Regions from separate parts of the Homo sapiens genome. Here region 1 is linked to region 2. Evidence: promoter capture Hi-C in human tissues and cell types (Jung and others, 2019). All regions are on one chromosome and are shown on one strand. Each heading gives the region's core, a stretch centred on a gene start or on the middle of the fragment in contact. The rest is flanking DNA. Distances are from core to core; before and after follow the strand shown. Region 1 holds the start of GNAT1 (G protein subunit alpha transducin 1). Region 2 holds the start of CELSR3 (cadherin EGF LAG seven-pass G-type receptor 3).

Region 1 (6,605 bases), core at 1,132-3,631, 1.5 Mb before region 2:
TCTGCTGGCGGGGTATCAGGGAAGGGGCAGGGTCTATCGCAGGGATGGGGTCCCCGGGGCAGGACGGGGCCTGGGGCAGTGACCTCCTGGGCTAGCGTATGGGTCGTACCGGAAGTTGAGATCCTTGAAGGAGAACTGCGTCTCGATGATGCCAGTGGTCTTGACTCGCGAGCGCAGCACGTCCTGCTCGGTGGGCACGTAGCCCGGGGTTACCAGGCGCTCCAGGTCGGAGAGGTAGCTGCGCGAGACCCGGCCGTAGGTGGGTGGGGAGGCGTGGAGGGCCCCCTGCGCCCCGCGCCCCGCGCCCCGCGCTGCCCGCGCGCTCACTAGCCCGCCGAGTCGTTGAGCTGGTACTCCGAGGCGCGCTCAAAACAGGCCTGGATACCGGAGTCCTTCCACAGCCGCTGGATGATGTCCGACATCTCCTTGGGCATCGTGCCCTCCTCGATAGTGTCTGCCATGTGCATCAGCTTCCGGGCGTCGTCCTGGGGGCAGGGTGAGAGTGGCTGGTGGCGGCCAGGGACTCGGGCCCAGCCGCGAGCCTCGAGTCCCCAGAGGCCCGCTCAGCCCGCCTCCTGGCACACCTGGCGTGCAGAGTCTCCGTACTGGATGTTGAGTGTGGTCATGGCGCGTACGATGGCCAGGATGGACTGCAACGTGTTGCCGTAGATGATGGCGATAAACTCGAGGCACTCTTCCAGCGAGTACCCGTCCTGGTGGATAATCCTGAGGCCGAGGAGAGCAGAATCAGCGCCTCGTGGGGAAGTGGGGAAGGACCCAGACCCAGGGGCCTCGGGACAGGCAGGGGCACTCACTTCATCTGCTTGACGATGGTGCTCTTCCCGGACTCACCGGCACCTGAAAGAGACGCGGCGCCTCAGAGCTGCGCTGACCAGCCTGCCCCCTCCAGCAAGGAGGCCAGGAGGACGGGGACCTCCCGAGTTGGCAGGGTGGACCCGCAGCGAAGAGGCCTGAGCGCCAGCCCCGACCCCGTAGCCACACCTACCCCCCCATCCAAATTAAGTCCTGACATCCTGAAGTCACAAGGTTTGCAAATGCCAGGAAAGTGAAGAAAGGAAGCCAACGAGGGGACTCAACGACCTCAACTGTTCTGGGACAGGGGAGTCCCCAAGACCCCGGCACAGGCAGCCTTTATTATGCTGTGAGACTGCAATGAAGAAATCCCGGAGCGTCATCGCCACCTCGTGGGAGCCTCTGGTACCGCAAGCACTGGGTTATTTGAGGCGGGTAAACCCCTTGCATTTCACCTGAAGGGGTGCAGGTGTCTCCAGGAGGCTCAGAGGGAATTAGCTCTTTTGGGTAGGAGGGAGGGCAGAGTTGACATCCTTTCTGAGCTTGCCCCTGCGAGGGCGTTGGGCACAGTTAATGAGATTTCCGGCTTAGCCTCTCTGCCTTGGGGGAAAGTGGGACTGGCTTGGTCCCTCACCCACCTCCAGCTGGTTGACCAGACCCTGGGGAGCTTGGGTGGAGCCCCTCTTGAAGCTGCTTTTTCCCCTTGAGAGGTCAGGCAGTGACCTTGAGGCAGGCCTGGATCAGCCCCATCTCTCCTCAGTGCCCATGGTCCAGTGGACGCGGCTTTATCTACTCCCACTGGGCCTCAGTACCCGCCAGCCCCTCTGGCTGCTTTGTAGGTCTATCAGCCACAGCCCTCTGGCACCTGAGGGCCATTCGTTGTGGATCTGGGTGGTCCTAGAGGCTCCCCACTCCCAGGAGGACTATGGCCATCCCCTTCCCAAAGTAGCAGCCCAATAACGGGCTCCCAGTGAGGCTCCTGGCTTCTGAGCATTGCCTAGCAGGCGTATCAAACCAAAGGCTGCATGAAGCTTGCGGGAACCCAGCCACGGAAAAGTCGGCATCACACACCCGTGCAAGAGTGTGGTTGGCACGCACTTCTGGGGAGGGTGGGTCACCTGAGGCAGAGCCGTCTGGAGAGGGGCTTTGTGGGATGTCCAGCCCTGGGGGACTAGGACACCACCTGTCAGGCCTGGCCTTGCTTGGCCAGGGCTCCCACCCTGTGCCCTACTCTGTCACAGGCTCATACTGCTTCCCAGGGAATCCTTGCTTCACAGAAGGGCTGCCTGCCTGCCTCCAGACCAATGACCTGGTGGCAGTGGCCCCACCTGGGCCCACACCCCTACCCAGAAGCAGCAGCTTCACGGTTCGAGCATCCTTCTCAGCGTCCTCTTTCAGCTTCTTTTCCAGCTCCCTGGAGTGCTTCTCCTCAGCACTGGCCCCAGCCCCCATGGTCCCAGCAGCAGGCGAAGGGACAGAGTGAGCAGGTGGTTCTTCTGGATGGAGGGGATCCCCAGAACCTGGCCTCCCAGGCACCCTTCTGGCCCCAGGAGGACCTGCAATCAACTGGCTCTCTACGGACCTGTGCAATCCCTGGTGGGGCTGCTTAGTGGGATTTGGGGGCTAGGGGTGTCCAAGAGCCAATCAGAGACAAGGACAGGTGAATCCAGCTCAGCCCCCCCAACCCTTCTAATCGGGCTGGCATAGCCCCAATCCCTCAACCGCTGACTCTGCACTCCGGCTGTCCTTCTGTCCCCGCAACCCTCCAGGAGAGGCCCTGGCACTGCCTGGGAGTGGGGAGACATGTTCAGTAGGGTCAGGGCTGAGAAAGGGGAAGGCAGAACCTTGAGCCCTGGGGGTGAGGACAATGGAGGTGGGGCTGGCAGTGAGAGGGCATAATTGGGAGAAACATGCCTGCTGCCTGCCCGGCACCAGGCTCAGCACCACTCCTTATCTTGTTGTAAGCTCACACTGGCCCTGGAGTATGGATGCCCATATCATCAGCCTCATTTTACTGATGAGGAAGTAAAGGCTGAAAGGGTCACACAGTAGGAAGTGGTTAAGAAGGGCTGGTGACTCTGGACTGGGATTTTATGACCTGCAGGGAATCCAGAGAGAGGGAAACAGTGGGCATTGCATTCATCCCATATCACAGGCTGGAGCTGCCCCAAGGAGGTCCTCTGCTTCCAGCGGACTGTGGTGGGCATGCATATCTGCTCTGTGTGCCTCGGTGTATGTGTCTTTTTTTTTTTTTTTTCTGAGATGGAGTCTCGCTCTGTTGCTCAGGCTGGAGTGCAGTGGCGCAATCTCAGCTCACTGCAAGCTCCACCTCCCAGGTTCACGCCATTCTCCTGCCTCAGCCTCCTGAGTAGCTGGGACAACAGGTGCCCGCCACTACGTCGGGCTACTTTTTTTGTATTTTAGTAAAGACAGGGTTTCACCGTGTTAGCCAGGATGGTCTCAGTCTCCTGACCTCGTGATCTGCCCGCCTCGGCCTCCCAAAGTGCTGGGATTACAGGCATGAGCCACCGTGCCTGGCCTTTTTTTTTTTTTTTTTTTTTTTTTTTTGAGACAGAGTTTCACTCTGTTGCCAGGCTTGAGTGCTGTGACACGATCTTGGCTCACTGCAACCTTCAACTCCCTGGTTTAAGCTTCTCCCACCTCAGCCTCCCAAGTAGCTGGGATTACGGGCATGTGCCACCATACCCAGCTAATTTTTTGTGTATTTTTAGTAGAGACGGGGTTTCACCATGTTGGTCAGGATGGTCTCGATCTCCTGACCTTGTGATCCACCCACCTCGGCCTCCCAAAGTGCTGGGATTCAGGTGTGAGCCACCTCGCCCGGCCATGGGTGTGTCTTTTGCTGGCACCAAGCGAGCAATAACTTGACACATTTGTGCATGAATACCTGTGTGTACATGTGTGCCTGCATGTTTATGCCTTTGTGAGTGCATGTGCTCTTATAGGAATCACGTGCCTGTGCGCATGCTTATGTATGTGTGCACATGTATACACATGTGTATGCATGTGTGAATATGCTTTGTGTATTCTCTTCATGCACACATAGGCTTGTGTGTTTTGCAGTTTGTGTAGGTTTGCATGTGTGCACTTGCTTATACGCAGGGGTGTAAACATGCCTGTTTGTACCTGAGCATATGTGTGCCTGTGCATGTCCATCTCTGCCTGTGTATGACTGTGTGTGTGCATGCATGCTTGCAGGCGCCTGTGCCTATATGTACACTTGAATTTGGGTGCAACAAAGTCTCTAATCTGCAGAAGTGGCCAGGCTCTTCCAGAGAATGTTTTGCAGGCCTGTTGCCAGGTGGAGAAATTGCATCCCAGAGCAGGTGTAGTGTTCCCTGGGGTATGGAGGAATGGGGCTCACCTATCCTGCTCCTGCTCTGTCTGCTGTGGGTGCTCTGAGGCCTGCCTAAGATTATCTCCAGGGCCTGCCTGCCTCAGCTTAGGGGGTCTGGTGCTCTGTTCAGGTGCAGGGCTCACTGCCGGGCAGAAATTGTTCAGGTTGAGCTCCCAGGTTCTAGAGACTTCCCACCCTCAACTTCCATAGGAAAACCCAAATCTTGGGCTCTCAAAGGCTCCTCCAGGCACCCTGAGCCTCCTGGCTGGACTCTTCCCTGGAACCTGGCTGCCTTTCAGCACTCAACTCTGCCACAGACTCAAGAGACCACAAGGGGGTGCCGGGGCACCAGACACTGAGCACTAACGGCTGTCTCTAAATAGTATGCGTGGGAAGTGAATGCTGGCTCCTACCACAGGCTGGCAGCTTCTACACCCACCCTGTTGGATGATGGGGATCTGTCCAGGAGTGAGGCCGTTGCATTTCTGCCACTTTCAGCCTTCAGGCTCCACCCACCCTCCCTGACCCTGAGGAGTGAGTGGGCCCTGAGGGGTCTCTACAGCCCTTCGCACTACCCAAGTGTTTGGGGTGGTGCAGCAGCCCAGGTTTGTCAAACTAAATGTGGTTTCTACATGTTGGGTTTCTTTAAATGGAGCCAATCTACTCCCTTCCCAGCCCCCCACCTGGCTCCCCAGGCCCACCACGTGTGGCTCTAAATCCCCTGACCAAGGAGAGAAGCCAAAGTCTAGTCCCAGAGCCAGTGTTTATTAGCAAGATGGAACCCAAAGGCGGCTGTGGCCTGGGCAGCAGAAGGCCACCAGGAGCCCCCACCCATCTACCCAACTGCCCCCCAGAGCTAATTACATCCACACCCATCCCCTGAAGTGGTGGACATAAGGGAGCCCTGGGGAGCCTCTACCGGCCCCAGGCCTCTACCACGGACCCCCTCCCCTCAGAGCTGGGGCCTCCCGTCAGCTCTGCCTGGGCCTGGCCCCTCTGCTATGCTCCCAGCCTCTGAGTCAAAGTGGCACAGGGAAAGCTAAGGAGGTAGAGTGGGGTGGCCCTGCCCTGGCCAGGCGGGGAGGGGAGAAGGGGCTGAAGAGGCTGTCCCACCCAGGCAGGATGCCTCTTCTCCTATCCCCAATAAATAGAGAATAAATACCCAGGAAGGGGCTGGTCGTGGCTGAGTGCCCCCAACCCAGGCAGGGGCTGGCATCCTGTGATGGCCCCTTCTTCCCTTCTCTGTGTGCTCTTGAGGCCACCCCAGTCTCCAAAGTGGTCCTCGCATCCATGTCTATGCCACAGCACAGGCTGACAACACACATCAGAAAAGGTGGACAGTCCGTGCCCCATCCGAGTAGGGCTTGCTCCCTCCCTTTGTCCTGTAGATCTTGGCGGAGGCTGTCCAGCAGGTAGACTTCCAGCTGAGTCTGGGGACTGTGTGGTCCTGGCCTGGCCCCACCAACTGGCTGGGCCTGGTTAGGCAGGCTCTGTTTTCTGCCGTCTCTGACCAGCATGGGTCTAAGTTTTGGAGGATGCTGCCACTGAGGCAGGCTATATTCAACCCACCAATAAATACTGTCTTTGCAGGGGCAGGGTGTGTATAGAATATAGATATTTTATATATATATATATATATATATATCTTTTATATTAAAAGGGACAAGGGCTAGGCTGGCCCATGGCAGGCACAGGCAGCTGGCCTCATGTGTCCGGAGGGTGGTGCCGGCGGTTCCGGGGCTTTTTCTGGTCCTGGGGCTCAGGAGACCGGGGTGCCCCTGGAGCCTCCCTGGGGCTGGGGGGCACATGGCGCCAGTAACCCTGGCAGTACTGGTGGATGAGGCCCACTTCTGGCTGGGCCAGCAGCTGGGCTAACTCCTGGTAAGGAGGCGTTGGGGGGCCTGCGCCTGGGGGTGGCGGGGCGCTCATGGACAGTGGTGGGAAGAGGGCAGCATGGACGGCGTCCCGGCCCAGTACATGCAGCTGCACTCGTGTGACGACGTGCTTAAAGTTGTTCTCAGTGGCTGTGCAGGAGTAGAGGCCACGATCGCTGAGCTGCAGTGCACGGAGCAACAAGCCCTGCTCTGTGCGCAGGAAGCGGTCCTCTGCACGAATCTGCAGGGGCAAGGAGAGGGGGTTCAGAGGCTCTGTGACCACCCTATGGCCCTAGCCAGCAACCAGATCAGACCACCTTTGTGGCCATTCCGTGTAGAGGCACCCATGTGGGATTTCCATATGCCAGAAAAACCACATGAAGTTTCTACATAATGAGAGATATTTGAATAAGGCATCTGTACAGATTTCCATTTCAGGAGTGATGACCATAAGGAGGTTCTGTACAATGAGGAAAATTTGAAGCACACACAGAATTCCTTTTTTTTTTTTTTTTTTTTTTTTGAGACAAGGTCTGGCTCTGTCGCCTAGGCTAGAATGC
Region 2 (6,064 bases), core at 1,117-3,616:
AGGGAGAGGGGCTCCACAGAACAGCCACAAAGGGAGGATGACAGTGGGATGACACACAGCAGGCAGCAACATGGAGAGTGATCCGCAATCAATCTCACTACTCAGAAGTGAGGAGCTTTGCTCTCCAAAAGGAGTGTTAGCTGGGACCAGCGCCAGCCCTATTGGTGAGAGGGCAGGGCTTGATTTCCCTCAGCCATAGTCCCTTTATGTCTCTGCACATTTGCCCACACAGTCTCCAAGACCTAGGATGCCCACCCCCAATCCCTATCCCTCCCTGCCCTTCCTTTGCAGATGCGGATCTCCCCTTGGTCATTCAAGGCACTGCTCAGGCATCTTATGCAAGAAGGCGTCCCAGGTTGCGAAGGTGACTCAGACGCCTCCTTTGGGACTCCAACACCCTTCCCCGGCAGAGCCCCTGCCTGTCTGCCTCCGTGGTGTCAGGTTTTGTGCCCTCTACTCACTAGATTGTGGACACAGAAAGCGCTGGTGCTGTCAAAACCACTTCTGGGTTGCCGGGCGCGGTGGCTCACACCTATAATCCCAGCACTTTGGGAGGCCAAGATGGGCGGATTGCTTGAGCCCAGGAGTTCAAGACTAATCTGGCCTACATGGTGAGACCCTGTCTCTATAAAAAATGCAAAAATTAGCCAAGTGTGATGACATGTACCCGTAGTCCCAGCTACTCGGGAGGCTGAGGTGAGAGAATCGCCTGGGGAGTTCGAGGCTACGGTGAGCTGTGATCACCACTGCACTCCGAAAGAGTGAGACCTTGTCTCTAAATAGATAAATAAAACTACTTTGGGGGACTCGCTCCTCCAGCCCCTGCACCGATTGGCTCCCATTCAAAGGAGTTCAGCCCTAAGTGCCTCTGCAGATCTTCCACCCCCACTCACAAACCCGTAGGAACCCCGGCCGTGTATCAGGCCCAGAGCTCTGATCCTGGGGAGGTCCTCAGATTCGTAGACAGGAGAGGGAACAACTGGACACCTGTTGCCTGACCTTGGTAGCCACAAGGGGCGCTCGGGAGGTGGAACCCGCAGAAGCCCCGCCTCCCGGAAGCGGAGCAGTCAAGGGGCGAAAGGATGCGCCGACTGATTGGTTGATGGTGATGTCATAGGGACCGTTCGGGGCGGGCCAGAGGCCTTGGCCAGGAGTTCCTCGCCTGTTAGAACCAGGATCCACCCCATCGCGGGAGCCGCACCCTGTGGAGCGTTCTGGGGTCCCGGCCCTGACCTCTTCCTGGGCTTCGGGATGCCCGCGTCCTCTGCACCCGGCGCTGCAGCTCGTTATCGATTCCGCCTTTGGAGGCCGGTCCGTATAGTGTACCTCCCGGACTCTCTCACGGTTAGCCGGCAACCCGCGGAGCCCCCTCCCCCATGCGATGAGTCCGCCGTGAGGGGCGGGGCCTCCCATTGTGCCAATAGAAACAATGACTGACCGATTGGAGTGCTCCGCGTTCACCCCTCGCCTCCGCTCCTCTCGTGACGTCTGTTGCGCCAGGTCCACCCATTGGCCTGGCGAGACCGGCGCGTGCCAGGAGTTACGCAGGGAGAGCTGGAATGCACCGAGGGTGGGGGGAGGACTGAGTTTCTGTGTCAGTCCCTTCAAGGGGTTAAGGCATGCGGTCGTGACGGACGAGGGGCGGGGACCCGAAGAAGCGGGGCCCGCAGCCATGGGGCAACGCCGGGCTCCACGTGGCATCCCAGAGCACTCGGGACTCGCAGCCTGGGAGGGGGTGCAGCCTCCAGTGAAGGGGCCCCGAGCCCGGGAGACTGCTGGGGACCAGCAAGGCAGGGAAGAATTTGGCCTCTGCTCCCGCCTCGGGAGGGTCATCTCTGGTCCCTGCTCCGCAGGGGCGATCCAAACAAGCAGGTGGTCGCGACATGTTTCATAAAACTAGCTGATGGGATAGTTAAAGCTATTGTTCGGGGTGCTGGCACCCCAGACCCCTCTCCAGCCATCGTCCCCTCTACCCCAGGATTTCACACAGTACCCCCTCCCAGAGCTATGAGAACGCTCATGGGCACCAAAATTTCAGACCAAAATCCGGGACACGGTTCAGAACTAGTGGTCAGGAAGGGGGAACAAGAGATCTGGAAGGACAGAAAAAGGCTGGGAGACGGAGCTGGGACAGCGCCCTAGAAGGAGGGAGGTGGGTGAAGGCGGCGACCGAAAGTGGGGAGGGCGGACCCAACGACGGCGAACCTTCGCGCTCTGTTCAGCACCAGGAGCAACGCTCACGTCCTCAATAAAGATGGCGGCAACATCTTCGGTCCTCAGAGCTGCCATGCGCGATGGGTTGTACCACCGTGTTTCGGGCGCCGGGGCAGAGGTGGAGCGAACCATCGGGGCGGCCGGGAGCCATGTTGGAGCGGCGGGAGGCGGCAGCAGCGTCGGGGATGCTGTGGTGGGGGCGGAAAAAGCCAGGGCCGCACGCCGGAGGGGCTCCGGCCGCGGAGTAGATGGTGCCCAGAGGGCGGCGGGGGTGCGGAGAGACAGGCGGAGGGGCGGGGGCCCGGGGCGGCGGCAGGGGCCCGGGAGGGGGCCCGAGCGGCGGGGCCAGCCCAAGGCCCGGACCGGGGCGGGGGGCGGTGGAGGCCGTGCAGGGAGGCGGGGGATGATGGCGAGGCGGCCGCCGTGGCGGGGCCTCGGGGGACGGTCGACCCCCATACTCCTGCTCCTTCTCCTCTCTTTGTTCCCCCTCAGCCAGGAGGAGCTGGGGGGCGGTGGGCACCAGGGCTGGGACCCAGGCTTAGCTGCCACTACGGGGCCAAGGGCGCATATCGGTGGCGGAGCCTTAGCTCTTTGTCCGGAGTCTTCCGGGGTCCGGGAGGATGGGGGGCCTGGCCTGGGGGTCAGGGAGCCTATCTTCGTGGGGCTCCGAGGGAGAAGGCAAAGCGCCCGGAATAGTCGAGGGCCCCCTGAGCAGCCGAATGAGGAGCTGGGGATTGAACACGGCGTCCAGCCATTGGGCAGCCGCGAACGAGAGACAGGACAGGGACCAGGGTCTGTGTTATACTGGCGCCCAGAGGTCTCCTCTTGCGGGCGGACAGGACCTTTGCAAAGAGGTAGTCTGTCACCAGGGGCTCTGTCCTCAGGGGTCCCGGGCTCGGGGAACAGCTCGCCCCTCCCTTCAGACTTTTTGATTCGGCACCACGGTCCCAAGCCGGTGTCCTCCCAGCGGAACGCTGGGACAGGCTCCCGCAAAAGAGTGGGCACCGCGCGCTGCTGTGGGGAATTATGGGCAACAGGGAGCAAGGGTCAGGGCGAGAGAGCCACGACATCCGGAGCAGAAAGGACAGCCCCCCGGCGGAACTGTCTTCCAGGGGCCTCGGGATCTGGCCCCGAGCTGGATTCAGCACCACGCACGGCGAGGACAGCTCCTGCATCAGGTTCAGCACCCCGCGAGTCTCGGACAGCTCCCGAGCCGGCGCCCAAGCGCATGCGCTCCCGGGGTCTCTTCCGCTGCCGCTTCCTCCCGCAGCGCCCCGGGCCGCGTCCCCCGGGACTCCCGGCCCGTCCTGAAGCCAGGAAAGTAACCTCGGCGAACCGGGCACGCTTTCGTCGCGCCGCAAACCGCCACCCGCAGTTTCCGCAGTACAACTACCAGACGCTGGTGCCGGAGAATGAGGCAGCAGGCACCGCGGTGCTACGCGTGGTTGCTCAGGACCCGGACGCCGGCGAGGCCGGGCGCCTAGTCTACTCGCTGGCGGCACTCATGAACAGCCGCTCGCTGGAGCTGTTCAGCATCGACCCGCAGAGCGGCCTTATCCGTACGGCGGCAGCTCTGGACCGCGAGAGCATGGAGCGTCACTACCTGCGTGTGACCGCGCAGGACCACGGGTCGCCGCGCCTCTCGGCCACCACGATGGTGGCCGTGACAGTAGCCGACCGCAACGACCACTCGCCGGTTTTTGAGCAAGCGCAGTACCGGGAGACCCTTCGCGAGAATGTGGAGGAGGGCTACCCTATCCTGCAGCTGCGTGCCACTGACGGCGACGCGCCCCCCAACGCCAACCTGCGCTACCGCTTCGTGGGGCCGCCAGCTGCGCGCGCTGCAGCTGCCGCCGCCTTCGAGATTGATCCACGCTCCGGCCTCATCAGCACCAGCGGCCGAGTGGACCGCGAGCACATGGAAAGCTATGAGCTGGTGGTGGAAGCCAGCGACCAGGGCCAGGAACCCGGGCCGCGCTCGGCCACTGTGCGCGTACACATAACTGTGCTAGACGAGAACGACAATGCTCCTCAGTTCAGCGAGAAGCGCTACGTGGCGCAGGTGCGCGAGGATGTGCGCCCCCACACAGTCGTGCTGCGCGTCACGGCCACTGACCGGGACAAGGACGCCAACGGATTGGTGCACTACAACATCATCAGTGGCAATAGCCGTGGACACTTTGCCATCGACAGCCTCACTGGCGAGATCCAGGTGGTGGCACCTCTGGACTTCGAGGCAGAGAGAGAGTATGCCTTGCGCATCAGGGCGCAGGATGCTGGCCGGCCACCGCTGTCCAACAACACGGGCCTGGCCAGCATCCAGGTGGTGGACATCAATGACCACATTCCTATTTTTGTCAGCACGCCCTTCCAAGTTTCTGTCTTGGAAAATGCTCCCTTGGGTCACTCAGTCATCCACATTCAGGCAGTCGATGCAGACCATGGGGAGAATGCCAGATTGGAGTACTCCCTAACTGGTGTGGCACCTGATACTCCTTTTGTGATAAACAGCGCCACTGGCTGGGTCTCTGTGAGTGGTCCCCTGGACCGTGAGTCTGTGGAGCATTACTTCTTTGGTGTGGAGGCTCGAGACCATGGCTCACCCCCACTCTCTGCCTCAGCCAGTGTCACCGTGACTGTGCTGGACGTTAATGACAATCGGCCTGAGTTCACAATGAAGGAGTACCACCTACGACTGAATGAGGATGCAGCTGTGGGCACCAGTGTGGTCAGCGTGACCGCAGTAGACCGTGATGCCAACAGTGCCATCAGCTACCAGATCACAGGCGGCAACACCCGGAATCGCTTTGCCATCAGCACCCAGGGGGGTGTGGGTCTGGTGACTCTGGCTCTGCCACTGGACTACAAGCAGGAACGCTACTTCAAGCTGGTACTAACTGCATCTGACCGTGCCCTTCATGATCACTGCTATGTGCACATCAACATCACAGATGCCAACACTCATCGGCCGGTCTTTCAAAGTGCCCACTACTCAGTGAGTGTGAATGAAGATCGGCCAATGGGTAGCACCATAGTGGTCATCAGTGCCTCTGATGATGACGTGGGTGAGAATGCTCGTATCACCTATCTCCTGGAGGACAACCTGCCCCAGTTCCGCATTGATGCAGACTCAGGAGCCATTACATTACAGGCCCCATTAGACTATGAGGACCAGGTGACCTACACCCTGGCTATCACAGCTCGGGACAATGGCATCCCACAGAAGGCAGACACTACTTATGTGGAGGTGATGGTCAATGACGTGAATGACAATGCTCCACAATTTGTGGCCTCCCACTATACAGGGCTGGTCTCTGAGGATGCCCCACCTTTCACCAGTGTCCTGCAGATCTCAGCCACTGACCGGGATGCTCATGCCAATGGCCGGGTCCAGTACACTTTCCAGAATGGTGAAGATGGGGATGGAGATTTTACCATTGAGCCCACCTCTGGAATTGTCCGTACAGTAAGGCGGCTAGACCGGGAGGCAGTATCAGTGTATGAGTTGACTGCCTACGCAGTGGACAGAGGTGTGCCCCCACTCCGGACTCCAGTCAGTATCCAGGTGATGGTGCAGGATGTGAACGACAATGCACCTGTCTTCCCAGCTGAGGAGTTTGAGGTGCGGGTGAAAGAGAATAGCATTGTGGGCTCAGTGGTGGCCCAGATCACTGCAGTGGACCCTGACGAAGGCCCCAATGCCCATATAATGTACCAGATCGTGGAGGGGAACATCCCTGAGCTGTTCCAAATGGACATCTTCTCTGGAGAACTGACGGCACTCATTGACCTAGACTATGAGGCTCGCCAAGAATATGTGATTGTGGTGCAGGCCACATCTGCTCCTTTG

What was found. Contacts are between HindIII fragments. The study calls those that stand out against the background at their distance.
Region 1: a contact is called between the fragment with the promoter of GNAT1 here and the fragment with the promoter of CELSR3 in region 2, in 1 of the 25 tissues and cell types used here (aorta).

The regions. Positions count from the first base shown.
Region 1 is chr3:50,187,386-50,193,990 of GRCh38, reverse strand. It overlaps GNAT1 (G protein subunit alpha transducin 1), which reads right to left and starts at 2,381. Exons shown (of 9, transcript NM_144499.3): 1 at 2,160-2,381; 2 at 816-858; 3 at 585-726; 4 at 328-485; 5 at 110-238. The coding sequence starts at 2,265. It overlaps SEMA3F (semaphorin 3F), which reads right to left. Exons shown (of 19, transcript NM_004186.5): 19 at 4,916-6,286. The coding sequence ends at 5,876. RefSeq lists enhancers at 1-108, 109-625. The HindIII fragment of the contact is 7,512 bases long and covers 1-5,607 here.
Region 2 is chr3:48,659,188-48,665,251 of GRCh38, reverse strand. It overlaps CELSR3 (cadherin EGF LAG seven-pass G-type receptor 3), which reads left to right and starts at 2,366. Exons shown (of 35, transcript NM_001407.3): 1 at 2,366-6,064. The coding sequence starts at 2,618. It overlaps LINC02585 (long intergenic non-protein coding RNA 2585), which reads right to left and starts at 1,484. Exons shown (of 3, transcript NR_111921.1): 1 at 1,439-1,484. RefSeq lists enhancers at 1-544, 1,041-1,400, 1,715-2,300, 2,171-2,360, 3,472-4,056 and 2 more. The HindIII fragment of the contact is 20,539 bases long and covers 1-6,064 here.